Linked DNA regions of Homo sapiens: region 1 is linked to region 2. Evidence: promoter capture Hi-C in 16 types of primary human blood cells and fetal thymus (Javierre and others, 2016). All regions are on one chromosome and are shown on one strand. The core of a region is centred on a gene start or on the middle of the fragment in contact, and the rest is flanking DNA. Distances in the headings are between cores, read along the strand shown.

What was found. The method cuts DNA at HindIII sites, captures the fragments that hold promoters and counts their contacts. A CHiCAGO score of 5 or more calls a contact.
Region 1: a contact is called between a fragment that was not itself captured here and the fragment with the promoter of MBP in region 2, in 15 of 17 cell types (monocytes, non-activated CD4 T cells, naive CD4 T cells and 12 more). The highest score is 14.6, in monocytes.

What each region holds. Positions count from the first base shown.
Region 1 is chr18:76,998,777-77,004,983 of GRCh38, reverse strand. All of the region lies in intron 4 of MBP (myelin basic protein), which reads left to right. Among named protein-coding and RNA genes, the nearest start is that of MBP-AS1, 21 kb to the right of the region's middle. RefSeq lists an enhancer at 6,175-6,207. The HindIII fragment of the contact is 945 bases long and covers 1,027-1,971 here.
Region 2 is chr18:77,131,486-77,135,292 of GRCh38, reverse strand. It overlaps MBP (myelin basic protein), which reads left to right and starts at 2,510. Exons shown (of 9, transcript NM_001025101.2): 1 at 2,510-2,713. RefSeq lists a silencer at 2,246-3,545. The HindIII fragment of the contact is 15,459 bases long and covers 1-3,807 here.

The DNA.
Region 1 (6,207 bases), core at 250-2,749, 130 kb after region 2:
ACCGACCCCTGTATCACCAGCGGACAGAGGCAAAGGCCCCCAAAGGAGGCCACGGGAGCTTCACTTCCCCATGAAACATGGGAGAGAAAACACAACCAGATATGCCCCGACCACATCTACAAAAGCAGTATCTGAATCTCTGCATCCAGCCTCACAGTTTGCTAAGAGGAGAAACGCTGATCCTTCCTGTCATGGGGCAAAGCAACAACCTCCCGAGTAGGGCACCAGAAGGGAAACCACACACACAAGCCACGGGCGCCAGCGGCCGCCACCCTGCAGCGCTCTCATTCCCAGTATCTGCAAGGAGCTGCATCCTCTGCAAGGAGCTGAGGTAACAGCCTCAGGTTACCTGAAATCTGCATCAGAACGAAAGGCTTGTCTGTGAATTTTTTCAGACATAGAGAAAAGCCCGCTATTCTGGATGGTGCACAGCTTTCTGTAAAGAAAGTAAATGCCCGTGACTTTCATTAACTCGTGCGAGCCGATGATTCAGGAATAAACATAATCTTCAACCCGGCAAAGGGCAAAAACACAGGAAAAACTGCATCTGTCATTCAGACAGAAAAGAATTCTCTCCAAACTGCAAAATCTAAAATGCCCTGATCTTGCTTTTAAAAAAAAATCTAACATACTCTCCTGAGGCATGGTAGGAGCTGTTTGACCAGAAATCGAATAATAGCTTCCTTGCGGCGGGGAGTGGGGGGGGACACATATATATATATGTGCTTTTTTTCAGAGGAAGCTATTATTTAACTAGTATTGTAACTAGTATTTAACTAGTATTGAAAAGAGAACCACAGTGTTCTGTGATTTCTCGGAATTGCCAGAGCATTATGAAGTCAGGGGGATGGAGAGTAAGAAAAGGGGAGACAGCATGGCCCACCATTTACAGTCGGATGTGTCGTCTCATCTCCAGCCTTGCAGACTTTGACACCCATGTTCTGTCCAATAATACTGATTTCACTGGTGCCTGTTTTAGCTGCTGGTTCCAGTTTCCATGGGAAACAGATACCATGACCCTAAGCTTCAGATAGTTTGCAGGGGGTCTGCTGTTTCCCACTCCCACCGGTTTTTAGGTAGAAAATACGCACGCATTGAATAACAGAAGATCCCTGGAGAGAAAGGAAGATGCTGCGTAGGTGACTGTCTCCTTTGAGCATCTTTAAGGAGGATCATTTAATCACTTAAACAAGGTTTCTGGGGATGTCAAGGATCTCTGTGAGCCACAAAAGAAGTGTGATGTAGGGAAAATGGCAGAAAAGGTGCATCTATTTCATCTAGAACTACATTTTACGATTCCTAATTCAAAAAATATACTGAAGAAGCATATTATCACTTTCACAAGAAAAAAATTATATCAAATATACCTCTGTTCTTTCTTATCATGGCAGCTCAGAAAAACAGTGACACCACTATCTTCTGTGGTTCTGAACAGGCCACACAGATTCATCCCTGAGCTCTCTGTCTCTGAGTTTTTTCAGATTAACTTCTGAGCTCTCTGGTATCTGCACTTCCTGAGAGTGCCAGAAGAATCAAATATTACTCTGGGAGGTAAAAAGAGTAAAAAGCAAATTCATTCGCCCTTCACTCTCAGGGCCACTGCTGAAACCGTCGAAATGAACAGCAGAGGTCCCGAATGCCGCTTTGTGGATGTGTGCAAAAACCCGCCATGTGCAACCTGGAAATTAAAGGAATAAGGACCAGGAGATATGTTGGTTGGTTGGTTTTCAGTCACATAGACAAAATAGGACAGTCCAGACGATGCCATCTGTCAGTCCTGAGGCATCACTCTCCACTGAAAGGAGGAACTGATGGGCCCTTTGTTTTAATTACATAGAAATGCGTCTTTTAAAATGACAGAGAAAATTGAAAAATCTCATCTCATTAACTACACTGGCATTTATTGTATCCATCAGTGTTTACTAGAAAATTAGTTCCCAATTATTTTGGTAAACAGCAGCAATTGAAGCTTCCCTCATTCCCTAGACACTAACTGGCATATGTCATTGACTTTGTCTACAGATACTAGTTTATTTTTCTCGTCTGTGAGCACACTGTTAGTTCTAGCCAATAGCTTCATAACTTACTACAAGGTAAGTCTACAAATTCTTGTAATAAAATACAATTTAAAAATCCGTTCTTCTCCCTTCCCTTTTCCCTTTCTCCTATGACTAGCCAGTGAATTTCCCCATAGGCCGCTGACTTTCAGGTGGGTAACGTGAGCCTCTCATCCTACGTTCACTCCACAAGAGTCTCGCTTGGCATGCAGTCTAAAGTTCAAGCCCTAGACAGCTAGCAGCCTCTGCGAGCAGCTCCCTGAACCTCTGTGCATCTCAATATTCAAATCTGTAAAATGAGTGGTGACGTGGGAGCAGTGCTGAATGATATTTTTGGTTTACGATCACACCTCGTGTTTTAAAACCAAGACGCCTTGCTTTCTCTATTCTGGCTTTGCATTGAATCCTTTTGGGGACACAGGGAAAACATGTACATTCCTAGAACTTGGACCACTTACTTGATTAAGACAATGCCCATAAGGAAATCCCTACTGCATTTAGCCACTGGATGGTAGATGCTGCTCTCTGGGCATATTGAGATACATTAACAAAGAGACATTTTTCTAACGTGTCATTCTGCAATGACATCATGGACCACACGACAAAGGGAAGAACAGGTGCTTGCTAAGGCTCCACAGCCGAGTGCTGATGGGTGCATCTCTGTAGCAAAGGCCCTAATGGGAGGCCCAGGTGGAGAGAGCCAGGTGCATGGGACCCTGCCGTGGTTGCCTCCATGAGAACGCACCATTCCAGGTTTACGAGAGGCCAGAGGTCTCCAGGCGGCAACTCCACATGGAGCCAACTTCCTGTGCTCCATCCCATCAGGTGGGAAAATGGGGCAGATGTTATCAACACTCAGTTATTTGACCCACTTCCCCAAAACTGGCACATAATCAATACAAATGGGGAAACAAAATGTACTGTGTTAATATGTGTGATCTGAAAGGAGGCAGATCATCTCTAATGATAGTTAGAAGATGTTCCAACACGTGGCTGTGTCAGTAAGAACACTATCATGAGGGGAGGGTGTAGATGAGCAGGAACTTTCTTACAGGCTTTTTTTCTTTTCTTTTTTTTGAGATGAAGTCTCACTTTGTCACCCAGGCTGGAGTGCAGTGGCTTGATCTCGGCTCACTGCAACCTCCGCCTCCCAGGTTCAGGTGATTCTCCTGCCTCAGCCTCCCAAGTAGCTGGGATTACAGGTGTCCGCCACCACGCCCAGCTAATTCTCGTATTTTAGTAGAGAGGGGGTTTTGCCACGTTGGCCAGGGAGGTCTCAAACTCCTGATCTCAGGTGATCCACCCGCCTTGGCCTCCCAAAGTTCTGGGATTACAGGTGTGAGCCACCGTGCCTGGCCTCTTACGGGCATTTTCTTAAGTAAGTCATCCAAGTTCTAGGAATGCACACTTCTCCTTGTGTCTCCAAAAGGATTCCATGTGAAATAGGAGTAGAGACCTCCAATACCTCGCCCATCTGTTAAAACTGCAGCGTGGGTACCCTGGCAGGCTCATTAGCTGCCGTGGACTGCTGCGGAGTGGCTGGAGACTGTCAGGCTACGCTGGGCCGATCTTCTGGGTAGGTGTATCTACACCCGTGTATCTAGTGATTTACTCTCCTCTGGAAGAGAAACGCGGGCACACCCCAGCCTGGGATGGCAGGCGAGGAACCCCCAAGCCCCAGCCCTGCATGGTCCCACCTGGAGGCTGAGATGAGCTTCAGGGTCCGGGACAGTGAGCGGGGACCCTATGAGTGGGAACCGGGTGGGCGGGGACCCGGTGGGCGGGGACCAGGTGAGTGGGGACCGGGTGGGCAGGGACCCGGACAGGCTCAGAACCATAAACTCACTAGGTCTTCACGTATTGACCTTATGATCGTTGATTCAGGGAAGCAATTAAATTCCTCTCTCAGACAAAGAACTAAGAGCTTGAACTCTTTTTTTACCAACTCCAGGCACCCGTGAATATTAATCTTTTTTCAAATTAATTGTAAACATTTCTTCTGAGAGGGAGTGACTCCATCAACGTATCTCCTTTAATAAAATCCGAGTGGAAATGATGCTGCCAAGAAATGCCTTGGCCCTGCAGCCGCTGATCTTCAGATGCATCGGGCGGCAACTCATCTGTTACTGCTTCCCAGTTTCAGAACGCCCAGCTCCCCAGGCCTTAAAACAAATTGGAAAGCAGGGGAATAAAAAAACAAAAACAAAAACAAAAAAAACAACAACAACCCTCTTCCTGATTTCTGGAGAGAAACAGGCGGCGGGCAGCAGCCTGGGTGCTGTGCGCAGGAGCTCCGCCTGCTGGTGATGGGTATCATCGCAGGTTGAGGAAAATAATTCTTCAAAAATCATGCAATCAAACAGCCTAATGGAAAAAGGAATTTCTTTTACAAATAAATGGCCACCCGTGGTCTTCCTCCCGTGATTTTAAAAACTTTTCAGCAAGTTATTTTTATTTACCAAGCAAACGTTTGTCATTTTGTTGTTGTTGTTGCTCTATGCATCGTGATGAAAAGCTCTACTGATAGGAAGAGGCCCCAACACTGTTGAGTAAAACAAGAAAACTCAGATGAAGAAAACAGTGTGTCTAGTATGATCACTTTTAACGGCATTTGCATATTTTGTCTGTGTTTTTGCACAAAGCCAGATCTAACAATGTGCTCATCAAAGTGTAAACCAGGGTCATCCTTCGGTGGTAGAATTTTTCCACAAACTTTCTTATTTCATGGGATATCTTCATATGAGCATGTATTATTTTTCTAAACAATAGAAAATATTAGTTTTTAAAAATCAGGTCTTTTTTTAATTCTTCAGCTGTCCCAGGTATTCAGCTCCAAATTAGCCAAAAATTTTGCAGAAATGTCCTGGCCTCATCTCTAGCTGGCAAAACACAGGTTGCAGGATGCCCCCCAGCATCTGAGTCTACATCACAAGGTGCGGCCCTGTGTCCATTTCTTCTTTTATAGTGCAACTGACATCCTAGCTCTTCCTCGCTTTTAATCACCCACAAAGAAAGTGCAGTACTTGAAACAGGTTGGGGATGGCCCAGAAGACACAAATCTCAATGAATAACCAAAAATGTTCACAGTTTTGGCTTTTTTTAAACCTTAGTGAGTACAACTAAAAGTATATCAGGGAATTACTAAATGTGTGTCCTAAAAAGTAAGCAGGCCATGTGTGGTGGCTCACGGTGGCTCACACCTGTAATCCCAGCACTTTGGGAGGCCAAGGTGGGTGGATTGCTTGAGGCCAGGAGTTCAAGACCAGCCTGGGCAACATGGTGAAACTCGTCTCCACTGAACAAAAATTAGCCAGGTATGGTGGTGCATGCCTGTAATCCCAGCTACTTGGGAGGCTGAGGTATGAGAATCGCTTGAACCCAGGAGCGAGGTTGCAGTGAGCCAAGATCACGCTACTGCATTTCAGCCTGGACAACAGAGTGAGACTGTCTCAAAAAAAAAAAAAATACCTAAACTAAACAGCAGGAACCCTTTCTGTCCTAGAGAGCTGAAGTTCAGCTCTCAGTTCACTTTCAGGATGACCTTATACGTCACAAGCGTTCCTGGGGCCGCAGCTCAGAGCTTCTGATGGGGTTGACGGGGGAAGCGGAGGTTGCGAGGCTGGCCCAGGCCCTCAGCGGTCTCCTCCGGGAAGGCTTGAGGGTGCGCCACCCGCTTCAGCGTCCCCCATGGCTGGTCTGTGAAGTGACTTGAGTTCACCTTCACCCCCTAAGTGCCCCACCCAGCTTGCGTCCTCCCCTCACCTCCTCCCGTTGTTTCTTTAAGGCCTAGCATCTTCTCCCAGCTCCTCCCACCTAGGAACAGGTAACCTGTTTATCATAAGGTGTGACAGAATGATAAGTGCCCACTCCCCATAAATTGAAAAACCCCCCAAAACACTGCTCTTAAACCCCCAAAACACTGCTCTTAAACCCCCAAAACACTGCTCTTAAACCCCCCAAAACACTGCTCTTAAAATCCGCTGACACCTTGCATCTATCACATTTCCTGCACCACTGGAAGCCGTGGAGTAGGTGGTGCGTTTCTACAATTGAGCTGAGCCGGGTTTGTGGTGAGCAAGGGGCTGTGGGGTCAACGAGGAAGGAGCCAAGGGGCTGCATGAAAGGACTGCAGACCCAGATCATGGCCCTG
Region 2 (3,807 bases), core at 1,261-3,760:
ATGGTAGCGGTTGCCTATAATCCCAGCTACTCGGGAGGCTGAGGCAGGAGAATTGCCTGAACCTGGGAGGCGGAGGTTGCAGTGAGCTGAGATTGCACCATTGCACTCCAGCCTGGGCCACAGAGCAAGACTCCATCTAAAAAAAAAAAAGAAAGAAAAAAAAAAGTTCAGTCCTTTCCTAAGCAAAACATCATAACAAAGACAAATCTGTTGATGAGGAAACTAAAGAAAACTCAAAGTTCGTGCAGTCTGAGGTCTGTTGGAAACTATTTAGATTCATTTACTTCCTTTAGCTTGGGTAATTTGGAGTTTAATTCAGCTTAACAAAAATTTATTGAGTGTATTTCATGCACAAAACATTTTGCTATTTGCTGCCATATGAGATGATGGATAGGTCAAACTTTCTGCTCTCCGGTACCTTGTGAAAGATGGGGGTAACTGCAATGTGATTTTCTTAGAAATGTCAAAGACACAATGAGGCTTTGATGGGTTACTTGTCAAAAGATGCCTTTCAATTTTATTCAGCACAACGAATCTCTGTCACTTTGCTGAGGGCTACATGGACATCTTCATGTGAAAGTTTGTCTCTCGACAGTGAAATGCCAGCCTCTGTTTCTTCCATCCACTGTCCTCAACCTGGGGTCCTTTTTCTAACCGGGAGGGCATGAAAGCCCCCAAGATAAGACCAGTTGATCCAAATGTGAATCCACTGTTTTATTAAATAGTATTATCTACATGTTTTCTTTGAAGAATCCATGACTTTTCTAAACTGCCTGGCTGCCCATCTGTGTGGACACTCTATCCCAACAAAATATGCACGGTGAAATTTCATAAATACTTTAAAAAGACTTTTAACTGGAACTTGTGGAGCCTGACATTTGTAGGGCTGACTGTTGGCATATGTAGTGTTTCAGGAAACCACTGTAACACCAGCAGAAGGAGCACCAAACAGAAGGCCGCGTGTGCAGCTGTCACTGTGGCCTGAGGGACGCTCCAGAGCCCAGCACACAGGGACATCTGCAGGCAGGAAGGTGGCCCCGCCCTGTGGAGTCACTGAGATAAAGCCAAGAGATATTTTGGGGAGGAAAAGCTGTTTCTGATGCTAAAGCAGGTATCTAAAATGGGACCCATTTTAGTGTTCCAGCTTCCCCAGCCTGAGCTTTGAGTGACTTGAGCTGGGACCTGGGTGCACCCGGGTTCATTGTCACCACCCGTGCTCCTAGGGCAGCTGTCCAGCCTCCCACGCCCACTCCGCTCATCCTTGACTTAAAGTGAGGTTGTGGGGCAGAAAAATTGGAGAAACACACTATCTTTGGCACCCTTTTCCCTCCTCACCTTCAGCCTCAAAGTCTCAGAACCCTCCTGCCCCCTCCACTTGAAAATCTCTCCTGAGGAAACGACCAGACTGAATGCTTTTGCGTCGTTGTGGAAGTATTTCTCTTCCAGTTGCCAGCATTTGAAGACAGTTGCTAAATCCTCCGGGGCTTTGGGGGAGGCTGGTTTTAGGCCGAAACCCCGACCCCGTGCTGAAGTCTGAGTCCCGCCTCCCAGCGCGGGCCGGGACAGCGCTCACCCCTCTCCCTCACTTCCTAACAAACTGTGTGGGTCCCAGGCTGCTCCAGGTCCCCTGGAAGCTCCAGATCCAGATCCCTGACTGGGGGTGTAGGTCAGGAGGAACGCGGGGCCTCATTCTGGGACTCCCCCAACCTCCTCCTCTTCCACCATCAGGAGGCTGAGAATCCAGAGAAAGATCTCTGACCACTAAATCTGTGTGCAGGTGAGTCACGGCTAAACAGCAGGCTTTTTCTTTTTAACAAGACAGCGACGAAGACCACGATGTCTCTGGGCTGCAGGACCAGGCTGCTTCCTCGCACCTGCGCGTGTTTTGCTGTCTTTTCCGCGCACGCTTCCTGCGCCGGTCCTGCAGGAGAAGGTGCGCCCCTAGCTCCCAGCTCCCAGCTCCCAGCTCCCAGAGGAGCACCTGCCAGCCGGACATGGGCCTGGCCTGGGCTCCAGGGGAGGGAGGGAGTGCCTTGGGAGGACCTGCCGGCTCCTTTCGCCTCCAGGCCGGGCTGACTCTCCTCCTGCAGGGCCGGGGCTGCGCCAAGTCTATCGGCAGTTTCTGGGGTTTCCAGCCCCTGAGGACGCGGGGAGATGCGGCCTGGCACCCCTCCCGCGAGGTCGAGGTCGGGGTCGGGGTGGGTTCGGAGGCCAAGCCTCCGAACGGGAAGGGTCGACGGGCCGCAGTTCGGAGCCCAGTTCGGCAGCGGGCGAGGCTCCAGGCCGCCCCTCCGAGGTCTGACCCTGCGCGTGGGCCCCGTGCGCCCCCCAAGTTCCGCGTGGGCAGAGCGGGCCCGGGGTCCTCCGAGCTCCCGGGGCGGCGCCGGCGGCCGCGTCCAGGTGGGGCGGGCCCGGCGGGATCGGCCTGTGTTTACCTGGCTCGCAGGAAGCCCGGGGAGGCGGGGCCGGGGAGCTGGGTGCGCGCCCGTCCCTCGGAGCCGCCGCCGTCAGTCACCGCCGCCGCGCGCCAGAGAGAAGCAGCCTCCGGCCCCGGCGGCCCCTGTCTCCCGACCCCGGAAGGCGAAGCAGGCTGCCCGGGGACCCCGCGCGTGGGCGCTTGAAGCCGAGACCAGCCTGCCCGGGCCTGGGCAGGCGGAGCAGGGCCTTGGACCCCGCGGCGCCCCTCGGCCTCGGAGCAACGAGCGCAGCGCCGGTGGGTGACCCTCGGGGACGGGCGGGCTGCTCTGCCGCCTTTGTCTCTGTGCCCCTCCGAGTGGGGACCGCGGAGACCTGGGCGGGACCCCGGACCGGAGCCCCGCGGGAGCCGGGGGCGCAAGATCGGGGACAGGAGCTATCCCGACGCCCGGACTCCGGGTCCCTTTCTTGGCTGGGGACGCGCAGGGAGAACCTAGGCAGCGGAGCAGGTGGCCGAGCAGGTAGCAGCCGGCGGCCTCCCTGACCCGAACCCAAGTCGCCGCCCCCGATCCCCATTGCGCGGGGGCTGGGCGCGGGTGTAGACGCGGGTTTACAGCGCCGGGGCCCGACCCTGACAGGTGTCCAGGGGTGGACTCCAGCCAGGCCCGGCGGTCCCAGGGTCGCTGAAACCGCTCGGCCTCGGGCCGTGGGGCTGAGGGGAGGAGTCTAGGGTGGGAGGGGACGGCGGTCAAAAGCGGCCACTCTGGGCGGGTGTGGAGAGGGTGCTGGCTGCCAGGGCGGGCTGGGGGGTCCTCCCGGCTCGCGGCGCCTGCTAATCACACCCCGGGGGCCCCGCGCGCGATCGCGCTCCTGCCCCTGCCCCCGGGGCGAAGCGCAGTCTCCCTCTGAGCTCCAGGGGCGGCCAGGAGAGCCCGGGTCCGGGCTTCCGCCTTCGCAGGGCCTGTCTCGGGCTCTTCGGCCGGGCCCGTCGCTGCGCCCACCTGGGCCCACGTGCGCCGCCCGCAGCCGCCCGCCGGCCCGCCCGGGTCTTCCCGGCAGTCCCCTCCTGGGCCCCACTGCCTGTCCTGGGCCGGGTGCGTCCGTTTTCCGTGGCCCCCGAGGCCGGGGTGTGTGACCTGCGGTCATTTGCCGCCACACTAGATTTTCCGGGGTGCTGGGGGCAGCGCCTTGTGTCCTTTCGCGTCCACCTGAGCCCCCCCGTTTTGGAAGGTGGAGTGGGGCTTGGGAAAAGGTTCAAGCGTCTTTGGGGACCCCCGTGCGACTCTGGCTGGAAACAGGCGAGCTCTGGTTCCTTGTTCCGTTTTCCAATTGCAACAACGTGAGAATCAACAAGTGCTCGGTTTCTCTGCGCGTGGGTGAGGGGCGCGTGGG